2 separate regions of the Homo sapiens genome follow, and region 2 is linked to region 1. The links are contacts of gene promoters, found by promoter capture Hi-C in blood cells and fetal thymus (Javierre and others, 2016). All regions are on one chromosome and are shown on one strand. The core of a region is centred on a gene start or on the middle of the fragment in contact, and the rest is flanking DNA. Distances in the headings are between cores, read along the strand shown. Region 1 holds the start of UBE2D4 (ubiquitin conjugating enzyme E2 D4). Region 2 holds the start of OGDH (oxoglutarate dehydrogenase).

Region 1 (6,785 bases), core at 2,280-4,779:
GGACCTCCAATTCCATGCACAAGGGCAGCTCAGCCTCTGTCACTTGCAGCCAAGACATCCTAACTAGTGGTGGCCCAATGGTGCCATCTCACCACGGCAGGCTTGACACACTTTTAAAGTTGTATTTCCTACAATTCTGTTGTTTTTCCCCAGGAATTGCTACAGAATTTGCAGGGCCTTGTGAATGTGAAAATGTAGGGTCTCAAGTTCGATAATTATTAAGAATTTCCTGATAGTGACAGCAGAGCATAAAACCAAAGGCAGAGCCCATCCAAGCCTGGGGCCCTGTGAGAGTGAATGCGTCACACACACATGAAGCCAGCCCTGACCTTGATTCTTGTTTTGCTTTTGTTTTAAGACAGGGTCTCACTCTGGTTGCCCAGGCTGGAGTGCAGTGGTGAGGCTCACTGCAGCCTTGACCTCCTGGGCTCAGGTGATTCTCCCACCTTAGCCTCCTAAGTAGCTGGGATTACAGGTGTGTGTCACCACGCTTGGCTAATTTTTTTTTTAATTTTTATTTACTTTTTTTTTTTTTTTTTAAGACAGAGTCTCGCTCTGTCACCCAGGCTGGAGTGCAGTGGCACAATCTCAGCTCACTGCAACCTCCACTCCTGGGTTCAAGCAATTCTCCTGCCTCAGCCTCCCAAGTAGCTGGGATTACAGGCATGCACCACCATGCCCAGCTAATTTTTTTGTATTTTTATTACAGAAGAGGTTTCAGTAAGTTGGCCAGGCTGGTCTCAAACTCCTGACCTTAAATGATACACCCGCCTTGGCCTCCCAAAATGCTGTGATTACAGGCATGAGCCACCTCACCCGGCCATTTTTTTATTTTTAGTAGAGATGGAATTTTGCTGTGTTGCCCAGTTGGTCTCCAACTCCTGGACTCAAGCAATCCACCTGCCTCGGCCTCCCAGAGTGCTGGGATATAGGCATGAGCCACTGTACCCAGCCTGTCCTTGATTCTTATCAAGGAAAAGTTCTCCCTGGCCTTATGATTTCAATTACCTTGGATCTATAGTTGACATTTCATGCTCAAGGCCCAAACTTGTTTTTCCAAACGCTCCCTTTTATAAATCTTATCAGCCTACACATTTGAATATGTAGGCTCAAACCTTTATTCCTTAATCTCTCCTACCCTCCTCCCTGCCTTCAAAACTTCTGATTCCCCATCCTAGACACTGACACCACCATCCACTAAGTGACCCATTTTGTACACCTCCTTGTTTCACTTTCACCACATCCTCTCCTCGAGTCCTGTCAATTCCACTTCTGCAATGTGGTCCAGGCACTGCTCTGGCCTAGCATCCATTCCATGGTCATTAATTTGGACAAAGCCTCTACTGAACCTTCACAACAGCCTCTAGTCTCCCTCTGTCCCACTTCCGGCCACACTGCTGCCAGAAAGATCTTTTTAGAACACAGATCTCAGCATGTCATTCACCTGCTTCAAAGTCCTAGGATGACAGATGACCCCTTTCAGAGAATAACTCATCAGAATTATCTCTCTTTTGGACAGCTATTTATTTAAAAAAAAAAAAAAGAGTCATACTCTCAGAGATCCTGTAATTCCACCTCTGGCAATCAAACCCAGTAATGTGAATTAAGGAAAAGGCTCATTGTACAATGATGGTTGATCTGGTTTGGATATTTGTCCCCCCCAAATCTCATGCTGAAATGTGATCGCCAGTGTTGGAGGTGGGGCCTAGTGGGAGGTATCTGGGTCGTGGGGGCGGATTCCTCATGAATGGCTTGGTGGCCCCCCCACAATAATAAGTGAGTGCTCACTCTATTAGTTCATGTGAGATCTGGGTGTTTAAAAGAGGTGGCATCTCTCTTGCTCCCTCTCTTACCAGGTGACACGCCTGCTTCTCCTTTGCTTTCTGCCATGATTGTAAGCTTCCTGAGGCCTCACCAGAAGCAGATGCTGGCACCATGCTTCTTGTACAGCCTGCAGAACCGAGAGCCAAATAAACCTCTTTTCTTTATTAATTACCCAGCCTCAGATATTCCTTTATAGCAACACAAAACAGACTAATACACAGTTCGTAACAGCAAATACTTAGTGAAGAATTTTGAACAATAACAGCAGCTAACTCGTATTGAGTGTTTGGTATACAGCAAGCATGTGCTAAACACATTTCATAGCATTTAATTCTCAAAACAACTCTGTAAACATGTAGGACTGGGAGGCTAGGAATGATAAAGTGCCTTGCCCAAGGTCCCACTATAAGTGACCTCACATTCTCTAACCCAGGTCTGTCTGACACCCAAGTCCATACTTTTACCTACTACAGGTAATGACTAAATAAGTTACTAGTCATGTACTTGTGGAAAGTTAATGTTAAAAATTAGTTATAGGACTGGGCATGGTGTCTCACGTTGTAATCCCGCCACTTTAGGAGGCAGAGGCAAGAGGACCGCTTAAGCCCAGGAGTATGAGACCAGCCTGGGCAACATATCGAGACACTGTCTCTACAAAAAATAAACAATTGGCTGGCATGGTGGCATGTAGTCCCAGCTACCCAGGAAGCTGAGGAGGGAGGATCACTTGAACCTAGAAGGTTGAGGCTGCAGTGAGCCATGATTGTGCCACTGTACTCCAGCCTGGGCGATACTCCAGCCTGGGCGACAGAGCAAGACCTCAAAAAAAAAAAAAAAAAAAGTTATAAATACTACTTCACAACATGCTTACATTTACTATTATGTGAATAAGTGGAATACAAAATGCAGTATAATTGTTTTAAATATAGAAAAAAAACTGAAGGTAGGTATGCTAAAATGTTAACAAATAGTAAAGTGATAGAATTAGAAATACTTCTTTCTTCTACTGTTGTGCGTTTTCCAAATTCTAGTGAATGCATTAAACCCTCATGGACTCCCTCTTACCTGCAGGATAAAAACCAGTTACTTCAGCACTGCTCCTAAGGACCACCCAAGTCCACACCATCTGCCCTTCAGCTTCCCCGCTACCCTGTCAGTCCTCCAAGCCTCGTAGTCTCCCCGTTGCAGGGAAAGCCTTTTCCCCTTTTCCCCACCTGCCGAGTTCCTACTCATCCCTTAGGACCCAGCTTCTTCCTGGATACCCTTCTGGATACCCACCCAGCCCTTCTGGATACCCTACAGGGGGAACCCGCTGTCCAGAAGCCTGCAGGTGGCCCCACGGCGCCCCGCCCGCATGACGCAGCCCTCGTGGCCACGGCCCGGCCCCGCCCCGCGCTCGCGCAATCCCTTTCTCAGGCTGCGTTCGCTTTTCAGGCTGCGCGGGAGGCTGTTCTGCCTCCTTCCCAGGCAGGTGTATCCGCGACTCGCGGAGCCTCCGTCACCTTTCACTTCACGGCAGCGGCGCCCCGCCCACACCTCGACGCTTCGGACACCCAAAGAGTTGGAGGGTGGGAAAGTGCGTACCTTCTGGATCCGCTTTAGCGCCATCCTACCCCGCTGCCGGGGACCCGGGCGGCCCGGCCGGGGCTGCCTGAGGCGGCCCGCTGCCGGCTCAGCCGCCACCAAGCTGCACGCCGGGAGCCGCAGCCTGCGCTTGCGCGCGCGGGGCACTGTGGGGCCGTCGTCGCCGCGTGCCGAGCGTCCTGGCGCGGCCGAGGGGAAGCAGCGGGGCTGCCCGGGTTACGCTGGCCACCCGCACCTGGTCCTGTGGCTTCGACCACTAGTCAGCAAGGCCCCGGAGAGGCCAGCGAAGAGGAGGGGCTCGTTGGCTTTACGGAGACGCGCGGAGCACCCTCAAGGTGCCACACGCTCGCCTGCTCCCTGTTCCTACATCCTGGGCGTCTTCCCAGGCTGTCATATAACTCCTGAGAATAGTGGTTCTTAACTCTGTAAGTATATATACCCTCGTACGCCTTATGGCTGGATGCGTTACAGCCATTTCCATGTAGATGTCTGTGCATACGTTCACACGCAAAACTCTCCGCAGTTTTGGAGATCTCCGTGTTCAGTCGTACCTCACGTGATCTTGCACTGCCAACATTGAGAACCCTGGCCTTAGACTATGCATCTCCCAAACTTAATTATCTGTCTCCTTCCTATTTTCCCAAGACTTGGCAGGCGTCTAGGTCAGAGTTGTTCAAACTGAGGGTTATGAACTAGTGTGTCACGAAATCAATTTAATAGGTTGCAACCAACATTTTTTTGAAAAAAAAAAAAAAAAAGCCAGACGAGGTGGCTCACGCCTATAATCCCAGCACTTTGGGAGGCCGAGGCAGGCGGATCACTTGAGGTCAGGAGTTCGAGACCAGCCTGGCCAACATGCTGAAACTCCGTCTCTACTAAAAATACAGAAATTAGCTGGGCGTAGTGACGTATGCCTGTAATCCCAGCTACTTGAGAGGCTGAGGCACGAGAATCACTTGAACCCAGGAGGCAGAGGTTGCAGTGAGCTGAGATCACACTGTTGCACTCCAGCCTGGGTGACAGAGCGAGACTCTGTCTCAAAAATAATAAAAAATAAAAATAAAAAAACAGAATAAAATATCAGTGCATTTCACATAGTAAAGGTAAGAATTGTGGAAGTTTTGTTGGTGTGTGTATGTAGATGATATTTAATCTTCAGACTGAGACATGTTTGAGCATGAAAGTGGCTGTTAATATAATTACTCTGGGACCAACGCTGTAATCTAGAATTGTCTCCAGCCAGCCAAGACACATGGTCACCTCTATGTTTGTACTCAGTCAGCATATAAAATGTATTATAGACATTTCAATAGTTGCCCAGCTTTGTCCCTGGCTTTCACGCTCCCATTCCCCCAATCTGTCCTCCACACAACTTCATGAACTGTCTGAAATATAAAGCTTACCACACTGCATCCTTACCCAGAACTCTTCAAGGAAGCCCCGTGGCCTACAGCATCACATTCACTGTCATCCAGGGGCCTTCAAAATCCAGGATCCTCGGCCGGGCACAGTTACTCATGCCTGTAATCCCAGCACTTTGGGAGGTTGAGGTGGGTGGATCCCTTAGTCCAGGAGTTCTAGACCATCCTGGGCAACATGGTGAAACCCCGTCTCTACAAAAAATACAAAACTTAGCTGGGCATGGTGGTGTGCACCTGTAGTCCCAGCTACTTGGGAGGCTTACTTGAGCCCAGGAGATCAAAGTTGCAGTGAGTTGTGATGGCACCACTGCACTCCAGGCTGGGAGACAAAGCAAGACCCTGTCTCAAAAAAACAAAAACTCAAAGTATCCTCCAGCTTTACCTTCTCCTTCCTACCTCCAGCCCACCTGACTATCAAGTGTTTCCATCACCACAGCATCTACATTCCTTGACTAGAGCATTCACCTTCCAAAGCCAGCTCAAGCATCACCCATTGAACAGCCCAAGTCAAGCACTTCCCCTTGGTGTCAAACATTGACAACAGAAATTTTTGTTAGTCCATGGGCCATCCATCCTCCTACATTATTGACATGGCCTTCCCTCCCCATAAAACAAGTGATTCTAGATTTTATAAATGTTGATATATTTGTGTAAGAATATATAAATGGTTATTTATGTGCTAATAATGTATATGGTGGTTTTGAAGTCTCAAATCTCAAAAATATTACTTTTGGATGGTAGGTTTACTAATGTGTTAATCTCTAAAATTTCTACAGAGAATTTGCATCATTTGTATAATTCAGGAAAAAAACATATAATAGAAAATGAAAAATTCTGTTTCTATTCCCTGTTGGTAGTTTAGTGCATAGTTTTCTAAACTTTTTAGCATGCTTATATGTAATGTTTCATTTTTAACATTGAAATAATTTTAGATGTACAGAAATGTTGCAAGAATAATACACAATTGGTCAGGTGCAGTGGCTTATGCCTGTAATCGCAGCACTTTGGGAGGTCAAGGCAGGTGGATTGCTTGAGGCCAGGAGTTTGAGCTCAGCCTGGCCAACATGGTGAGACCCCATCTCTACAAAAAATACAAAATTTAGCCAGGTGTGGTGGCATGCACCTGTAGTCCCAGCTACTTGGGAGGCTCAGGCTCAATAATTGTTTGAACCCAGGAGGCAGAGATTGCAGTGAGCTGAGATTGCACCACTGCCCTTCAACCTGGGCAACAGCGAGACTGTGTCTCAAAAAAAAAATAATAATAATACACAAAAGATTTTTAAATGGATAAATTTGACTACATGAAAGTTTAAAACTTTTGTGCTTCAAGCAATACCAACTAGAAAACAAAAAGACAACACACAGAATGCGAGAAAATGTTTGAAATAATAATATCTCAGTACAGTCTAAGATGCAGAGTATATTAAGAACATTTAGAACTCAATAAAAAAGACAAATAACCCAATTAAAAACTGGGCAAAAGATGTGAATAGAAATTTCTTCAAAGAAGATACTCAACTGGACAATAAGCACATTTTAAAAAAATCAGGCTGGGTGTGGTGGCTCAGGCCTGTAATCTCAACACTTTGGGAAGCTGAGGTTGGAGGATTGCTCGAGGCCAGGAGTTTGAGACCAGATTGGGCAACATAGCGAACCCCTGATTCTACAGAAAAATTTAAAAGTTAGCTGGATGTGGTGGTGTGCATCTGAGGGCACAGCTATTCGGGAGGTTGAGGTATGATTATTGCTTGATTCCAGGAATTTGAGGCTGCAGGGAGCTATGATTGAGCCACTGTACTCCAGCCCAGGAGACAGAGCAAGACCCTGTCTCTTTGGGAAAAAAAAAAAAAAAAAGGCTGGGCACAGTGGCTCACACCTGTAATTCCAGCACTTTGGGAGGCCAAAGAGGGCAGATCATGAGGTCAGGAGTTTGAGACCAACCTGGCCAATATGGTG
Region 2 (6,785 bases), core at 1,499-3,998, 680 kb before region 1:
CTGCGCCTGGCTAATTTTTTTTTTTTTTTTTTTTTGTAGAGACGAGGTCTCACTATGTTCCTCAGACTCGAACTCCTGGGGCTCAAGCGATCTGCCTGCCTCAGCCTCCCAAAGTTGCTAGGATTACAGGCGTAAGCCACTGCGCCTGGCCAAGGAATGAACTACCCATAACACGCAACAACCTGGATGATTCTCCAGGGAATTAAGCTGACTGGAAAAAACCAATCCCAAAAGGCTCTATGAATCCTTTTATTTGGCATTCTTGACATGCCAAAATTAGGGAAATGAAGAACAGATTAGTGGTTACCAGGAGTTGAAGGACTGGGAATGGGAGGAATGTGGGTGTGGCTATAAAAAAGCAATGGAAGGGATCCTTGTGATGACGGGAATATTCTGTATCTTGAATTTTATTAATGTCAATATCTGGCTGTGATATTTACTATAGTTTTGCACAATGTTAGAGAAGTGGGAAAGGAACACAGGATCTCTCTGTACTATTTATTATGACTGCATAGAATAAATTTTTATGTACAATTTCTTAAAATTTTACTGTTTTCAAAATGAATTTCTCAATAATTTGTACAATGATCTCAAAAATTACCTAAAAATCTAAAAAGTAGATGATACTGTAGTTTTTTCTTTCCTTTTTTTTTTGAGATGGAGTCTTGCTCTGTCGCTCAGGCTGTAGTGCCGTGGCGCCATCTCGACTCGCTGCAACCTCTGCCTCCTGCGTTCAAGCGATTCTCCTGCCTCAGCCTCCTGCTGAGGCTGGAGGAGCTCAGCCTGTAGCTGAGACTACAGGCCCACGCCACCATGCCCTGCTAACTTTTGTATTTTTAGTAGAGACAGGGTTTCACCATGTTGGCCAGGCTGGTCTCAAACTCCCAACCTCAGGGGATCCACCCACCTCGGCCTCCCAAAGTGCTAGGATTACAGGCGTGAGCCACTGCGCCCGGCCTTTTTTTTTGAGACAGGATCTCACTGTGTCACCCAGGCTAGAGTGCAGTGGGGCAATAATGGCTCACTGCAGCTTGGACCTCCCTGGCTCATGCCATCCTCCCGCCTCAGCCTCCTGAGTAGTTGCGACTACAAGTATATGTGGTATATGCCACCATATCCGGATAATTTTATTTTTTGTAGACGCCGGGTATCACTTTGGTTGCTCAGGCTGGTCTCCTTGAACTGAGCTCAAGGGATCTTCCTTTCACACTCCCAAAGTGTGGGGATTACAAACGTGAGCCACCACGACTGGCCGAAATTGTGCACGTCAAATGGGTGAATCGTATGGTATGTGAATTTTATCTCAATAAAGATGTTATTTAAAGGGAAAAAGTAACTGAAATGTGAAAAGTGCGCTTAAAAAAAATAATGAGGGGCCGGGCGCAGTGGCTCACGCCTGTAATCCCAGCACTTTGGGGGCCGAGGCGGGCGGATCACCTGAGGTCAGGAGTTCGAGAATAGCCTGGCCAAGGTGGTGAAAACCCGTCTCTACTAAAAATACAAAAATTAGCCGGGCGTGATGGCGCGTGCCTGTAATATCAGCTACTTGGGAGGCTGAGGCAGGAGAATCACTTGAACCCAGGAAGGCAGAGGTTGCAGTGAGCCGAGATCGCGCCACAGCACTCCAGCCTGGGCGACAGAGACTCCATCTCAAACAAGACAACAACAACAAAAAATGAGCATACAGTGATCTTTATTCAACTTCCCAAGATCCAGTCCTCAGCTAATTTACAAAACTACAATAGTGTTACATACTCTCCTAGGTCTACACGGCAAAGTACAGTTTGACTGTTGCAACTAGTGCTGCCTTACAAAAAAAGGCTTTATCCCATGCCACCCATCCTAAACCCAGCTGTTCAGAGCAGTGTACCTGGAAATCAGCCTCAAAGTACGGACTGCAAGACAAGGCACAAGGAAACCCTAACACGAAGTCCTATGTTCTGGGCAAAGGGATGGGGATGGCAGGTGGGACGCACCCAGGTCAGGGCGAGGGCGCGGCAAGTTTTCTATTAAATCTCAGTAGATTACAACTCATATCCAATGTCTGATATATTTTCGAGGGAAAATGGTGCTTGAAAGATGTTTCTACGAGAAATAAGCTTCATCTCGGTCAATCTGTTCGACCCAACTTCTGGCAGCAGGTGTGGGGGCGGCGCCAAGGTCTGCGCGGTAATCCAAACAGGCAGTCCCACCCAGGGCCACCCCAAAGCCAGATGCTCCGACGCAACTCGAGCAGGCCACACTGTCTTTCGGACAAAGCGACGCGGTCCTCACAGGCGGGAAGGAGAGTGCGTCCCGGTCGGGAAGGACGCCGTCGGAGAGCGGCCTAACCACGTGACGCCCGCGGCGACCTTGGGGGTCACCCCTGCGGACGCACCGCCCTCTCCCTCACATCCGCCGCCGCGCCCGCCCCCCGCTCGCCCACCGCCAATGGCGCGTCGCTCCGCGCCCCGCGCGACCTCGGAGCCCGCCCGTACCCGCCAATCTCCGCCCGCCGGGCAGGCCCCGCGGCTCCATTGGCTGCCACGGCCATCCATCAGGTCCCGTCCCTCCTACCACCCTCCGTGAGCCCCACTCCATCCAGCTCCACTCCCCTGTCACCGCGGCGCCCGCAGCACCAAGGGCGCGGCGGCCTCCCCCTTTACCGCGATCTCCAACCCCGGGCCGCCAAGCGCCGCGACACCCGGCACTGGGACGGGCGCGGCGACAGCGCACGGTTACCTGTCTCCGGCTCAGCTCCACCCGAATGAGGCGCCGACACCCCACTCCGGGGCTCCAAACTCTCGGCCCCGCCCCGGCGTATGGCGTCAACACGTAGCCCTCCCCTGGAGAAGAATGCCCTCCCCTCTTACAGAGGACCGATTCGTGACGTCACAGAGCCGCGCCGGGCGTCACAGCGCCGACTGCGCAGTTGCAGAAGCCAGGGCCAGCTGGAGCCCAGCTGTTTGCTCCGCTAGAGAGATGAGGTTGTCTATGGACTTCCAGCGGCTTCTGCTATCATAAATAATTTCTGAAAGTAAGATATCTCTAGCGCCTGGTAGGAACCTATCAAGAGATAGTTGGGTTGATGTGAAACTTAGCGCACAAAAATAAACAATTTGAATAACAGAATCTCCGTTTTTGAGATTGTCCTGGGTCAGGCTTTGTGACAAGCGCTTCACCGGCGCTATTGTGTAACAATCTGTGAGACAGGTGTTCCTATCCCCGGTCTACAAATGACAGTTGGCAGTGCTGGGATCTTGCCCGGGATCTTGCCTGGGTTTTCTTGACTTTAGAGCTACCTATCAAAGATAAAACGTGGCTAATTAACCTGTCACAACCTGTTGATTGTAAGATGTTCCCTATTTTAAAGTATTAAAATTTGGGGAAAGGCCGGGCGCGGTGGCTCACGCCTGTAATCCCAGTACTTTGGGAGGCCGAAGCGGGCGGATCACTTGAGGTCAGGAGTTCGAGACCAGCTTGACCAACATGGGGAAACCCCGTCTCTACTAAAAATACAAAAATTAGCTGGGCGTGGTGGCGATCCCAGCTACTCGGGAGGCTGAGGCAGGAGAGTCGCTAGAACCCGGGAGACGGAGGTTGCGGTGTGCCGAGATCGTGCCATTGCACTCCAGCCTGGGCAACAAGAGCGAAAATCCGTCTCAAAAAACAAACAAAAAAAGGGGGCGTATAAGTGCTTATTATAGAACAAAGTTAGGGTAATGTATGTGACAAGGATCTAGAGACTGGAAGAGGTGAAGAGACCAAGGAACAAACTTCTGTATTCTTTTTTCCTTTTTTTTTTTTAAATAAATTACGGTAAAAATGTATGTACTAAACATTTGCAGCTGGGTGCAGTGGCTCACGCTTGTAATCCCAGCACTTCGGGAGGTGGAGGCGGGAGGATCGCTTGAGCTCAGGAGTTCCAGATCAGCCTGGGGAACAGAGCAAGATCTCATTTCTACTAAAAAATCAAGAAAATTAGCCAGGTGTAGTGGCACTCACCTGTAGTCTCAGCTAATTGGGAGGCTGAGGCAGGAGGATCTCTTGAGCCTGAGAGATTGAGGCTGCAGTGAGCTATGATTGTACCACTGCACTCCAGCCTGGGCCAGAGAGCAAGATACTGTCTTTTTTTTTTTAATGCCATTTTAACCATTTTTAGGTGTATAACTCAGTGGCATTAATTACATTCACAATATTATGCAACCGTCACCACTCAATTTCCAAAACTTTTTCATCACCTGAAACAGCAACTCTGTAACCATTAAGCAATAACTTCCTATTTCCCCTTCTCCTCCTGTCCTTCTCTCCTTTGGTAACCTCTATTATACGGTCTCTATACATTTGATTACTCAATTACTTTATGTGGGTGAAATCATAATGTATATGTCCTTTTGTGTCCACCTTATTTCATTGAGCATGAGGTTGTCAAGGTTTATCTGTGTTGTAGCATGGGTCAGAACTTCATTTCTTTTTTTTTTTTTTGAGACAGGATCTCCCTCGGTTTCAGGCTGGAGGGCAGTGGTGCCATCTCAGCTCACTGCAATCTCTGCCACCCAGGTTCAAGTGATTCTGATGCCTCAGCCTCCCAAGTAGCTGGGACTACTGGCACGCTCCACCATGCCTGGCTAATATTTTTTTCTTTTTCTTTCTTTCTTTTTTTATTTTTGAGATGGTGTTTCGTTCTTGTTGCCCAGGCTGGAGTGCAGTGGTGTCATCTCGGCTCACTGCAACCTCTGCCTTGTAGATTCAAGCAATTCTCCTGCCTCAGCCTCTCAAGTAGCTGGGATTATAAGCGCCCGCCACTACGCCCAGCTTATTTTGTATTTTTAGTAGCGATGGGGTTTCACCATGTTGGCCAGGCTGGTCTTGAACTCTTGACCTCAAGTGATCCACCCACCTCGACCTCCCAAAGTGCTGGGATTACAGGCATGAGCCCCCATGCCTGGCCAGAACTTCATTTCTTTTTATGGCTGAATAATATTCCATTGTATGTATATACCACATTTTGTTTATTTATTCATCTATTGATGGACACTTGGTTATTTCTGCTTTTTTGCTGTTTTGAATAATGTTGCAATGAACATTGGCTTATAAATGTTTGAGCCCATTGTGGTACCAAGCAGTGGGCTCACTGCTAGATGCACATAGAAGCCAATACTATGTCATCACCTTTTGAGAAAAGGCTTTATCGTAAGGTCGACCAGCAGGGAAACCAGAGGCAATACTCAAATTTGTCTCCCCAAGATGGAATCTGGGGGCAGGTTTTATAGGCAGAAGGCAACTATGAGGGAGATGGGAAAATACAACAAGGTGTGATCTGTTTGGGTCATGCAAAGGGGCAATGCTGGATCTTTGGCTTTTAAGTTCATATTGCAGCAAAACAAGGCGCCCCATGCTTCCTAATTTGGTGTCCATTCCTCCATTTGAGTGGTTAAGTCCTGCCTGTGGTTGACTTTTGTGTTCCCACCGACACCAGGGTCAGCTATCAGGCACACTTTGTTCATCTGGGCATACTTAGGTTACGTGACTTGCAGCCTGGGGATCTATTGTAACTGAAAAACAACTCATCATTTTGTTACTGATAAAAGTTGAACCAGGCTGGGCACAATGGCTCACACCTGTAATCCCAGCACTGTGGGAGACTGAGGTGGGTGGATCACCCGAGGTCAGGAGTTCAAGACCAGCCTGGCCAGCAGGGCGAAACCCCCATCTCTACTAAAAATACAAAAAAATTAGCCAGGCTGGTGGTGGGTGCCTGTAATCCCAGCTACTTGGGAGGCTGAGGCAGGAGAATCGTTTGAACTCGGGAGCCGGAGGTTGCAGTGAGCCAAAACCGCTCCTTTGCACTCCAACCTGGGCAAGAAGAACAAAACTCCATCTCAAAAAAAAAAAAAAAAAAAAAAACTGAATCAGATTCAACTGGTCCTGTGGTTACACCTGTTTATAATTCTTTTGCCTGTATACCTGGGAGTGTAATTTCTGAGTTATATGGGAATTCTGTCTAGCTTTTTCAGGAAGTGATAAATTCCCACAGTGACCGCACCTTTTTTGTTTGTTTGTTTTTGAGACAAGGTGTCAGGTTGGAGTGCAGTAGTGTGATCACAGCTCACTGCAGCCTCAACCTCCGGGGCTCAAGTGATCCTCTCAGCTCACGCTCCTGAGTAGCTGGGACAATGGGCATGCACAACCAGGCTAGGCTAATTTTTTCTGTTTTTTGTAGAGACAGGATCTTGCTGTGTTGCCCAGGCTGGTCTCGAAGTCCTGGCCTCAAGCGATCCTGCTGCCTCAGCCTCCCATAGTGTTGAGATTACAGGTCTGTCTCTATTTTTTTTTTTTACTGTCTCTATTTTTAAAAAAATTACTATCGGTCAGTCATGATGCCTCACTCCTGTAATCCCAGCACTTTCAGAGGCCAAAGTAGGAGGATTATCAGCCTGAGCAACATAGTGAGACTTTGTCTCTCCAAAAAAAAAAAATTAGGAGTGGTGACACATGCCTGTAGTCCTACCTATTTGGAACGCTGGGACAGTAGGATTGCTTGAGCCCAGGAGCTTGAGGTTGCAGTGAGCTATGATCATGCCACAGAACTCTAGCCTGGGCACAGAGCAAGACCCTGTTCCCCCACCTCCCCACTCCCCAACCAAAAAAATTTGGTGAGGTGTAGTGGCTTATGCCTGTAATCCCACCACTTTGGGAGGCTGAGTCAGGAGGATTGCTTGAGGCTAGGAGTTCAAGATCAGCTGGGCAACATAGCAAGACCCCATCTCTAAAAAAAATTTATTACAGCCAACTATAATAAATAG

What was found. The method cuts DNA at HindIII sites, captures the fragments that hold promoters and counts their contacts. A CHiCAGO score of 5 or more calls a contact.
Region 2: the fragment with the promoter of OGDH here is called in contact with the fragment with the promoter of UBE2D4 in region 1 in 1 of 17 cell types (fetal thymus); the score reaches 5.4 in fetal thymus.

What each region holds. Positions count from the first base shown.
Region 1 is chr7:43,923,180-43,929,964 of GRCh38, reverse strand. UBE2D4 (ubiquitin conjugating enzyme E2 D4) reads right to left here and starts at 3,529. Exons shown (of 7, transcript NM_015983.4): 1 at 3,409-3,529. The coding sequence starts at 3,432. It also overlaps a transcript of URGCP not described here. RefSeq lists a silencer at 3,096-3,635. The HindIII fragment of the contact is 2,907 bases long and covers 1,902-4,808 here.
Region 2 is chr7:44,602,590-44,609,374 of GRCh38, reverse strand. OGDH (oxoglutarate dehydrogenase) reads right to left here and starts at 2,748. Exons shown (of 23, transcript NM_002541.4): 1 at 2,722-2,748. RefSeq lists enhancers at 1,759-2,098, 1,774-2,337, 2,589-3,188 and a silencer at 2,319-2,548. The HindIII fragment of the contact is 8,395 bases long and covers 2,102-6,785 here.